2 separate regions of the Homo sapiens genome follow, and region 2 is linked to region 1. The links are contacts of gene promoters, found by promoter capture Hi-C in blood cells and fetal thymus (Javierre and others, 2016). All regions are on one chromosome and are shown on one strand. The core of a region is centred on a gene start or on the middle of the fragment in contact, and the rest is flanking DNA. Distances in the headings are between cores, read along the strand shown.

Region 1 (5,510 bases), core at 883-3,382:
CATGGGCTAGCCCCAGACTAACCAACCTGGGCTAGCCCTAGACTACCTCTAGACTAGCAGTCCTCTAGGCTACCTCTAGACTAGCAGTCCAGGCTAGTCCCAGACTAACCAACCTGGGCTAGCTCCAGACTAAACAACCTGGGCTAGCTCCAGACTAACAAACCTGGGCTAGCCCCAGACTAACCAACCTGGGCTACTAGCCTCAGACTAACCAACCTGGGCTAGCTCCAGACTAACCAACCTGGGCTAGCTCCGATTAACCAACCTGGGCTAGCCCTAGACTAACCAGCCTACGCTAGCCCTAGACTAACCAACCTGGGCTAGCTCCAGACTAACAAACCTAGGCTACTAGCCCCAGACTAACCAGCCTATGCTAGCCCTAGACTAACCAACTTGGGCTAGCTCCAGACTAACCAACCTAGGCTACTAGCCCCAGACTAATCAACCTGTGCTAGCTCCAAACTAACTAACCTGGGCTAGCCCTAGACTAACTAGCCTACACTAGCCCTAGACTAACCAACCTGGGCTAGCCCCAGACTAACCAACCTGGGCTACTAGCCCCAGACTAACCAACCTGGGCTAGCTCCAGACTAACCAACCTGGGCTAGCCCCAGACTAACCAGCCTACGCTAGCCCTAGACTAACCAACCTGGGCTAGCTCCAGGCTAACCAACCTGGGCTACTAGCCCCAGACTAACCAACCTGCGCTAGCTCCAAACTAACCAACCTGGGCTAGCCTTAGACTAACTAGCCTACACTAGCCCTAGACTAACCAACCTGGGCTAGCCCCAGACTAACCAACCTGGGCTAGCCCCAGACTAACCAACCTGGGCTAGCTCTAGACTAACCAACCTGGGCTAGCCCCAGACTAACCAACCGGGGCTAGCTCGAGACTAACCCACCCAGGCTAACCCTAGACTAGCAACTGGGCCTCCTCCGGCCCCTGCTCTGGGCTCCGCCTGTGAAGCTGGGTCCTGGGTTGCCAGCTGCTGGCCCAGGAAGATTCCCTGGAAGATTACCTTGCTTTGGGAGGGGGTGGAAACACCAGGGGACCCCAGTGACACTGGAGTCGAAACAGCATCCATTGTCAAAACACTGGTCACTGGTGATTCCAGGGAAGCCGCAGTTCGTCCTGTTATGGGGGCTCAGCCTGGAGCACTGGCAGGGGGCTGTGGAAAGACCCTCAGTCGGCCCCACCCTGGTACCCCAGACCACACTGCTCCTTCTCTCAGAGGTTCTAGGGGATGCCTCTACTGTCTTGTTGCCACATAGAGAAACACAAAGTCTTATCTTGCCCATATTTAAGCAATGCGGTTTCCTCCTGAGAAGCCGATAGGGCTTTGCTGAAATTGTTATATTAGTTTAAAAGGAAAAAAAAAAAAAAGCCAGGCATGGTGGCTCATACCTATAATCCCAGCACTTTAGGAAGCCGAGGCGGGCAGATTGCTTGAGCTCAGGAGTTCAAGACCATCCTGGGCAACATGTCGAAACCCCATCTCTACAAACAATACAAAAAAAAAAATTGGCCGGGCATGATGGTCCACAACTGTGGTTTCAGCTACTCAGGCGGCTGAGGTGGGAGGATCACTTGAGCCTGGGAGGCAGAGGTTGCAGTGAGCCAAGATCACACCACTGCACTCCTGCCTGGGCGGCAAAGCCAGATCCTGTCTCGGAAAAAAACAAAAACAAAACCCTCCTAGAGGAGGGTGAACAGATGGACCCAAGGCCAAGATCCAGGCGAGAGGTGAGTGCTCTGGGACTCCAAGGACCCTTGGTGGGAATGCCCTCCTGGCCCGACACGGGGCCCGCTGACACCTGCCGTCACTCAGCCTTTCCCTAGGAGGGAGGCCCTTCTTGGAGCCACCCTCCTGAGCAGTGGCAAATCCCATGTGAACAACACACATTGCCAGATGCCTTTATAGCCATTCCCCCTCTCAAGTTAATTTATGGTTGTGCTTTTTTTTTTTCTTTAAGAGAAATAAAGAAAGCACATAAAAAGACCCTCTCCTTCACTTACAGGGTTTCTCACTCCCCGCCAGGGCACATAGCCCCAGGACGAGGAGCGCTGCCAGGAGCTGGGCGTCTCGCCGTCCCATGTCTAGCTCAGCTGCACCCCAGGGTGGCTTGCAGAATGCATGGTGTCCACTGCCGGGTATGTTTTATAATCTCCCCTCTGTTTGTCCAACAAGCAGAGATAACCTTTCTTCTCTGCCCCGTGGCCCCAGCCCTTCCACCGTGGAGGCGAAGAGGAGGCAAGAGGCAGCTGTGCCCTGTGCAGGCGAGGCTTCCGGGCCAGGGTGACTCTCTCCCTGCTCGGTGATACCTCTTCCTGCCCTGGACAGAGAGTTGGGTCATGCCAGGCTGCCAGCGTGGAAAACCGGCCACGTGCAGGTCTGGGGCTGGGCACACACAGGGTCACACCCAGGAAGGGATAAGCTATGCATTTCTATTGATAGAGTGGGCAGGGACCACAGGAATTTAGAAAATATTAGGGCCAAGTTTACTGGGGAAAATGTACAGGCCAGCAGATAGCATGGAAAAGTCCCCTCCCTGAGGAAGGGAAGCATCTCAGAGGAGGTAAGAGACTGCTCCCAGGGCTGTGGTTAGAGCCTCCCCAACCGCAGCACGATGCCCTTTGTCCCATCTTCAGCAGGAGGGGCTGCTCTCCATGGAGATGAGGCTGACAGGGTCAGCGGAGTAGCCTGTGACAGGCAGGTTTTAATAAGTTCATTTTCAGCCAACCCCTGAAATGGGTTATTTTTGTTCCATGGGAATGCTCTACATCTTCTGAAAGATGGCACCTGGGACCCAGCCCATGGCCTTCCTGGGGTAGGATGTGCTGGAGAAGGATTCTGTGGACCTGACAGAGAAGACAGAAGCCAGAGAGTAGACACCCGGAAAGAAAGAGGGAAAAGTGTGGTGGGAAGGACAGAGGGGACCCGAAGTTCCCCACGCCAGGGAAATGACAGGGGGTTGCCAGTCTGTTTCTGATGGTTGAGCAGTCAGGGGCCCAGAGACGCAGGAAACCCAAAATCCTTGGTCCACCACGGGGCTGTCCTCAGGGTCTGGAGAGCAGGCCCCATACTCCAGGCCCCCATCCTCCAGGCCCTCGTCCCCCAGGCTCCATCCTCCAGGCCCCCATTCTCCAGGGCTCCATCCTCTAGGCCCCTGTCCTCCAGGCCCCCATCCTCTAGGCCCTCATCCTCCAGGCTCCATCCTCCAGGCTCCATCCTCCAGGTTTCATCCTTCAGGCCATCATCCTCCAGGCCCCCGTCCTCCAGGCCCCCATCCTCCAGGCCCCATCCTCCAGGCCCCCATCTTTCAGGCCCCTGTCCTCCAGGCTCTTGTCCTCCAGGCCCTCATCCTCCAGGCCCCTGCTCCTCCAGACCCTCATCCTCCAGACCCTCATCCTCCAGGCCCCCATCTTTCAGGCCCCTGTCCTCCAGGCCCTCTTCCTCCAGACCCTCGTCCTCCAGGCCCCTGTTCCTCCAGACCCTCGTCCTCCAGACCCTCATTCTCCAGGCCCCCGTCCTCCAGGCTCCATCCTCCAGGGCTCCTCTGGGTCCGGGTCAAGTACCTCCAGGCTCTCTGCTGACTGTTCACCACTGGGCAACCACAGGGACTCGATCCATGAAAACTCTGGCAAGGTCAGTTTCCTTGTTCTACATCCCTGTCACTTTAGTCACCATCATGATATAAGTGACTGAGTCATTGTTTTCTCTCATATTCCCACCCACCTCTCCTCTCTGCTTCCTCCCCATCAACTCGACTTCCCACCGCTCACTGCAGCCCCTTCAGGATTCCTGCTGCGACCACCTGACCCATGCAAAAGAGACCACTTCTCAGCCTCTCTCACTCTCCTGGCCCTGGCGGAAGCCTGTGTTGTCATAGGCATGCTTCCCTGGAATCCTGCTCAGGCCCCCACGCAGGGACACTGAGTGCCCACAGAGTTGGGAAACCATTACACGAGATGGGACGTCTGCAATAGAGTGGCATCGCTAGTTGAAAGTGGAGCTGTTCACAACCTCCACAACTGTACTTGGTGGCCACGTCCCCATCACATGGGCTCAGACTGGGGGCTGGACATTGACTTTGAGCCCCAAGTCTTCACCCTCATGCAAAAACCATCCTCCTTGGAGATGCAGGCTGGGAAGGGCGCCATGTCCGGAGTCCCTGCCCTGCTGTCATCTGCCGACCTTTGTGCAGCCTGTCCCTTTCGTTAAGAATTTCAGCACTGAGTTCACTGTGTTCCTTGTCATGCTAAGACTTGGCCACATCCCAGCCATCTTCAACATGGCGGTCGATGTTTCATCAAAATTCACAGTCGCTCAGATTTTATTTTTCCTCATCTCTAGGAACTTCCATCTCCACTCCACTTCTGCCACTTCTGCCACCCTCCCATGACCACACTCAGAACTTGAGCTCCACCTCTGAAAGAGGGTATGCAAATGTCCTTTCTGCCCAGGATGTCCTAAGCTCCTAACATTCTCCCTTTGTCTGAATCCTAAAGCCCTCCAATCCCCTATTCCCCTGTGAGCCCCCTCCTGTCTATCCTTCCTTCCTGCTTCTCCAGCCTGATTTCCACAGTGCTCACTTCACCCACCGTCTTCCTCACTGCTGTTTCCCACTGTCTCTGTGCCTATGCCATCTGCCTAGCATGGCCGACACCTACCTTGAATTGTTGCCACTCTCAACGCATGATCTCAGCGCCATCCAGGCACTCAGGGCTGGCGCCCTCCTCTTTCTGTTTATCCTTCTCCACCCCTGCTCACTTCCATTTTGCACACTTTGGGGATGATACTTTCCATCAGTTCACATAGAAAGTCAACAAATGGGAACCACCTCAGCTATCACCCATGTGGACTTCCGCTTTTGACTATGGAGTCACTGGTACCAGGCTAGCCTCCCACCATGAGTAACTCTAAAACTACATAAGTAACAGTCTGCAGATGCTGAGCAGCAGGCAGTGCCAGACAGCGATCCCTGAGAGAAGGGAAACAATAGGGGGAGTCCCATGGCTGCCTTGGTTTCCTGGAGACGCTCTCCAGACTACAGCACAGGGAGGGGAACCCAAATAGCACTGAAGTCCCATCGGGCTGAGGAGACAGAGGTCAGAATTGGAAGCTTCTGAGGCAGGCGGGTTATCAAGGTAAGAGAAGGAAGCTCCAGAAATATAAAAGTGTGTCCTTTGAGCTTTTCATCAAATACTATGCTGTTCGTGCCCACAAGGCCAGGCTAAGTAGCCCCTGGGGACAGAACAATCACTGGGGAGGCTAAACTGAACAACTAGTGTAGGGTTCGTGGGGCTGGAAAGCATTTGAGCTCAGAGCAGCCAGAGGTGTTGACCACTTCAAGCATTCAATAAAGGCCATGCCGTAAAAAGAAGGCTGATCTTTCTAGAGGAAAGCTACTCAAAATCCATTCGAACAAAACTTTAAAACAAGTCTTGCAGGAATCAAGTTAACCTGCAAGTAAATTAACTGCTTGTATTAGTTCACTCAGGTTGCTGT
Region 2 (5,510 bases), core at 1,564-4,063, 190 kb after region 1:
CTTTTGAAGCCAAAGCTACATGTTAACATGGGAGTTTGGGAAGTCCCGACCTGGGTCACCCAGCGCACAGCACCAAAGTAGCAGAGCTGGGACCCAGCCTGGCGAGTCCAGATTTATTTGTAAATGGCTTTTATTTTATACAGATAAAATTTATTTATTTGTAAAATTCAGCTCAGCCAGGCCAAAGGCTTATTTATGGTGGACGATCGCAAACAAGATGCGGAAGCTAAAACGGGAACACCAGCGTCATCAGGTCTTAAGTCTTAGATACTGTGCCTCATTCACCTGGTGTGTGCATCCATGAGTTTTGTTCAAATGACAGTTCATCAAGTGACTGTATGTATTAATTGATTGTAGAGGCACAAATTTTAATTTCAGGCCTTCCAAGACTTTCAGGGAAAGGCCTCTTTCTTCTTCTTGAGTACAGAATGCGCTCAGAGCAAGAGGTAGAATGGGTGATGGCACAGCCTGAGGCCACATAAACACATCAGCTCTCGTGAGCATCGCGAGTCCTGCATGGCACAGAAGCAGGGTCTGCATGGCCCCCCGTTGATTCTGCGCCGACTCCCTACTTTGCAGGCACTGCTGCGCCCTGCACTGCTGGACTCGTTTCAGCTTCTCAGCTCCATCTTCTGTCTTCTGTTTTGTTGTGCTGCAGGAGAGGTTTGATTATGGGGGTCTGGAACTCCCACACCTCCGTGGGCAACATCTTGGGGTCATTGATCGCTGGCTACTGGGTGTCCACATGCTGGGGCCTGTCCTTCGTCGTGCCTGGAGCCATCGTGGCAGCCATGGGGATAGTGTGCTTTCTCTTCCTCATTGAACGTAAGTGCACGTGGCCTTGGAGACCACCCACCAAGGGAGGCCTCGGATTTCCCTGCCTGGGTGGGCCTTGGGGGCGAGTGTGAGAGCTGCGTGGCCTAGCGCCCTGTTTGCCCGTGGCTGCCTCAGCGCTCTTCTTACCAGGGAGACTTCCCCGGGGAGCCGGTTCTCTCCTGGTTTTGCTGGATTTCCTACTCTCCCCTGATTCTGGAGTGACCCATGTCCCCATTCCTTCCTCCCGTCCTCCTGTCCTCCCTTGCCCCGGCATCAGGAGTTCATGCATGGGAGTCTTCCATCTTCCCACAGGCTGTTCCTTCTCATGCCCATCTTGCCACCACAGCCTGAATTGGACCCAGTCAGCTCTTTGCCTTCTGATAAGATATATCTTGGACAGTGTTATAAAAGACTGACTTAATATCTTAACTGGGTAAAAAGTATCTCTTGGAAAATCAAATCTCTTATTCCATTTCAGATTCAATAGCAAACTCTTTATTTAATTGAATTTGAAATTCATTTCTGAAGTAGAGATCCAGCAGGCTCTGGTGCTGAGAAGATTCAGGACAGTTACAGCAAGAATAGAGATGCCCGGGTGGCCCTGGCGGTCACACGACAGGGGCTCGAATCCCGCAAGCCATTCTGATAAGCTGTACTCAACTCTTAGTTCTTTGACTGAGTTTAAACCATATGGCAGGAGACAGCTCCCTCATGCTGCCTGCCAGGTAGGGACACTCAGAGCCAGCTCCCTCCAGCCACACTGGGCATTGCTGATCACTTCAGCTCTGCATGCAAAAGTTCATCCATATTCCATTTAGTCGCTCACTTTTTTTGTCTTGCAAAAGCTAACCTTTTAATTTTTAAGGTAACCATCATCTGGCCACACTGTGAGTTTGGAGACTCTCACCCCATGCTTCTGTGTTGGTGAAAATGGAAATAAACATTCAGATGAGGAATGTCCAGACACACCCATTGGTGTGAGCAAAAAGTGGGGGCCCCGGGCTGCACTCCGCTCCCCTTTCCCCGCTTCTGCAGAGGCTGAGTAAGCCTTCGGCCACACCCCAAACAGCCTGAGCAGGGGCCTCCTGGGATGGGTGGGGGTCTGGATCCCTCCCAGTGGGCCAGCATGTGGCTTTCAGCTCTGGCTGGTGTGTCACTGCAGTTCTGAGAAAGGCCATTTCCACCACCTGTTTTCTTCCGCTCTGGTTCCTAGAACCTGGAGTTCTGTGCCCCTGCGCTCCAAGTGTTTGAGACACCAGCCACCCGGAGAACAATGTGCCTCTCTTTGTTAGCGCACAGGGGCCCCTGGGTGTCTCCTGCCTGAGGGTAGAGTCCATGGGGTCTTCTGTTCTCTTCCTTAACTGGAAAGGGGCTGGCTCTGGGGAGAAAAGGACATGTGGAAGGGAAAGGAGCTTGCTCAATGGCCGGGACCTCAGCACCCGCTCCAGGCATTCACGGCCCTATGTTGATGTTTGTCTCTGTAAGCAGAGAGAGCTCAGCTCTTGTGAATAAGCCTCCCTGATCCAATTTGGGCAGATAGCAATGAGCCAGATGCCCCCTGTCCCTGGGTCCTCTGGCCACAGGCCCACTCACCTACAGGAAGGCTGCATGCTTCATCTCTAGCCAAACAAAACCAAACTACCAGAACCTCCTGCCCAGGGAATCTTTCTGACACTCTTTCCCCTTGTGCCTGGGAGGTGCACTGTGTCTGAATGATGAGACCCAGCTGTGACAACAGTGGCTGGATGCTGAGTCTGAGAACAGGAGCTCTTTGCAGATAGGGAGGAAACATCAAGTGCCCCTTGGTTTGTTTCTGCCCCTCCTTGTCCCGAATCACTGATCCTGGGCAGGTACTAAAGGCATCAGATGTGCCATTCTTGCGGTCAACAGAGGATGTGGCTTTCTCTGCTGCTCCTTCACTCTTGTCTCCTGCCCAGGGTGAGCCCCAAAGGACAGGGCGTCCCCTGCTCCTTTCTCAGGCCTCTCTGAGTCTCCTTTCTGAAGCTGTTCTCAAATGTGTCCCAGCCAAGGGACGTGTGTGCCCAAGTCCCTGAAGGTGAAAGTCCAGGAAGAGCCATATCAGGGGAAGCCCCTGGCTTACCCCTGGGGGCATCACACTGTGAGTGGATACCGATGGGGTGAGTTGGCTGATGTCCTTTAAATTGGTGACCATACATCACAGGTGGACCATTGGGACTGCCCAACATGCCGACCATGTGTCCTTGGTCAGTGGCCTCGCCCTATGGGCTGTGCCCAGGACAGGAGGGCGACGCACCCCACAGCCAGCCACGGACCTCTGGGTGCAGACCCACCTGGCCCTACGGCATGTTGATAATAACCTTATCAACAAAACCCAGACAAGAGGTTTGATGCTGGCCTCGAGGCCAGCAGGAGTGTGCTCGGCAGCTGCATGTCCCTCTATGATGTCACCCTGTGTTGTATGGGAATGGACTTGGCTGTGGGGAGCCTGCAGCCCTGTAGCTCAGTTTGGGTTGCAAGGCAGTAACCAGTTTCATCCAAGGTGATAAAGAGACCAAGGTGCTTGGTAGTCAGAGGGGGCTGCAGAGGTGGAGCGAGAAGCAGTAGGGCTGGTTTCCCGCAGCACCTAGAGGCCTGGGGTCTGACTCTGGGTTCCCGCATTGCTCGGGGCAGGTTGCTGGTGTCTGTAAAGGACACGCTGAAGCCTCACTTCTGGTTCTGTTCCTTTTCAAGTTTCCTCCCTTCCTTGCATTTACACAAAGATGTTTGTTCCATATCAAGATAGATGTTTTATCTCCACTCATTTTTATTTCTAATGAATTTCATAACATGAAATACCTCATTACAGACATTCTTCCAGCCTCGCTCCCCTGATGTGCTTTTCCTGGTTTTGCTTTTCTTCTGGGGCTTGTCCTCTGAATGAGAGTCGTGGGCTTGTCCACACAGCGTCCGCATGCTCTGCTTGTGATTATTGGCCACGCTGGGAAGTATTTTCCATATTTAAAGTAGCGTTCACGTTCACAGTGTTGGCACTGGCTGGCGGTGATCTGCCATACCCCCCTTGCACACAAGTGGGCTGCCAGGCCGAGTGACTGGGGACAGGCCGGGGCGTGTGCGGGAGTCACTGGTGGGACAGCCAAGCTGTGCCCTTGCCCTCACCTGGCATGCTATGGCGATGGCTTTTTTCTGAAACGAATGCCAATTTAGTAAAGGTATAAGATGGCATCTTGTGTTTTATTAAATTTTATTGTGTATATTTAAGGTATGCAACATGGTGTTACAGATACATAGAGATAGTAAAAAGGTTACTAGTAAAGCGAAGCAAGTTAACATAGCCATCGCAACTCACAGCTGCCCGCTTTTGTTTTTGTGGCAAGAGCAGCTCAAATCCACTCATTTAATGTGAATCCTGCATACAGTCCAGTTTCACACCCGGTGCTCCCGTGTTGCCCTGTCCTCGGGTTACGTAGCTTACTTGGCATTGCCATGGTGGTGGACCTGCTCAGCCTCACTCATGTTTGCTCTTTCAGATCCGAACGACGTCAGGTGCTCCTCCACCCTGGTGACGGTAAGGACCCTGTTTTCTTGTCCTTTTCTAGAACAGTGTGCGGTTCTGACCACTTCCCCAGCCTGCTCCTGCCTGTGCGGTGTCAGACAGAAACACACAGGGTAGACAGAAGTCCCACCCTCAAAACATTGGCAGTTCTAGGAATAGAGAATATTCTGTTTTGGGTTTCGCTGATAATAACCTTATCAGCAAAACCCAGACAAGAGGTTCAATGCTGTCCAGATGAAGGACTTCATGCTAAGGGGAACCAAAGGCTGGGCCCTGGCCAGGCCTCCTCAGGAGTGGAGACCTCCTGGTTTCCCCAGGGGCCTCAGTGTGACGGGGAAAAACGCACGTGTCAGCTGCCTGCCATCACTTAAGTTGGTGGCTGCACGTCTCAGGTGGCCGAGAGGTCTGCCCAGCACGCCATTCCTTCTCTTCTGTACCCCTGCCCAGCTCAGCCAGCGTAGGCCCTGCAGGCAGGATTGCTGACCACGTTGGCTGCCATGAATGAGCCCTGCCCTAGCTGCCTCCACCCGCAGCCAGTCACCACTGGCCACTTTCCCACCTGGCTAAGGCCAGCCCTCCCGCGGTACCGGTCCCCTCCCTCTCATGGCCCAGGGCTTGACTCCCGCAGACACACCCCCCGCCCCAAATACCATTCCTGGCACACTCATGTAGTATTGGTGGCTGTCTTGGAAGAAAGTCCCTCTGGCCCTCATGCCTGCTCCCAGCCGCCCCGCTCCCCATGTCCACTGGCATGACACCCCTCCTGTCTGCAGGCCACCGCCACCTCACGGGAACAGCCCATCAGATCCCAGCAACGTCACCCGGACACATAGGGTGGTCAGCTCTCTGGCCTCACCCTGCTGGGCCCGTCGCCCGCGTCTGACCCAATGCTTCCCTCCCTCTGGGGGTCAGCTCTCTTCCCTCCCTCTGGGAAAGGCTCCCCTACCCGGGCTAACATGTTAGTCACGTCTGTGCCGAGTGTCAGACCCCAGATGTGGGGGTGCCCCCAGGCTGCCCTGCGGCCTCCTCTCTCCTTGTCTGCCCGCTCACTGCAGGAGAGCGCGCTCGGGCCTTTCAGCGGCTCCAGGTGCGTTGATGTCGAGTCACCATGCTGTCCCCAGAGTGACCCACCCCTGAGCTCCGCAATCTGAGGTCTCAC

What was found. The method cuts DNA at HindIII sites, captures the fragments that hold promoters and counts their contacts. A CHiCAGO score of 5 or more calls a contact.
Region 2: a fragment that was not itself captured here is called in contact with the fragment with the promoter of TFF2 in region 1 in 1 of 17 cell types (total CD8 T cells); the score reaches 6.9 in total CD8 T cells.

Annotation. Positions count from the first base shown.
Region 1 is chr21:42,348,862-42,354,371 of GRCh38, forward strand. It overlaps TFF2 (trefoil factor 2), which reads right to left and starts at 2,133. Exons shown (of 4, transcript NM_005423.5): 1 at 2,018-2,133; 2 at 1,020-1,169. The coding sequence starts at 2,096. It overlaps LOC105372815 (a long non-coding RNA gene), which reads left to right and starts at 3,432. Exons shown (of 3, transcript XR_937755.3): 1 at 3,432-4,440. The HindIII fragment of the contact is 5,593 bases long and covers 1-5,122 here.
Region 2 is chr21:42,542,778-42,548,287 of GRCh38, forward strand. SLC37A1 (solute carrier family 37 member 1) reads left to right here. Exons shown (of 20, transcript NM_001320537.2): 8 at 659-825; 9 at 4,326-4,363. Among named protein-coding and RNA genes, the nearest start is that of SLC37A1, 32 kb to the left of the region's middle. RefSeq lists enhancers at 1-276, 2,480-3,017, 3,018-3,553 and a silencer at 2,504-2,727. The HindIII fragment of the contact is 7,023 bases long and covers 1-5,510 here.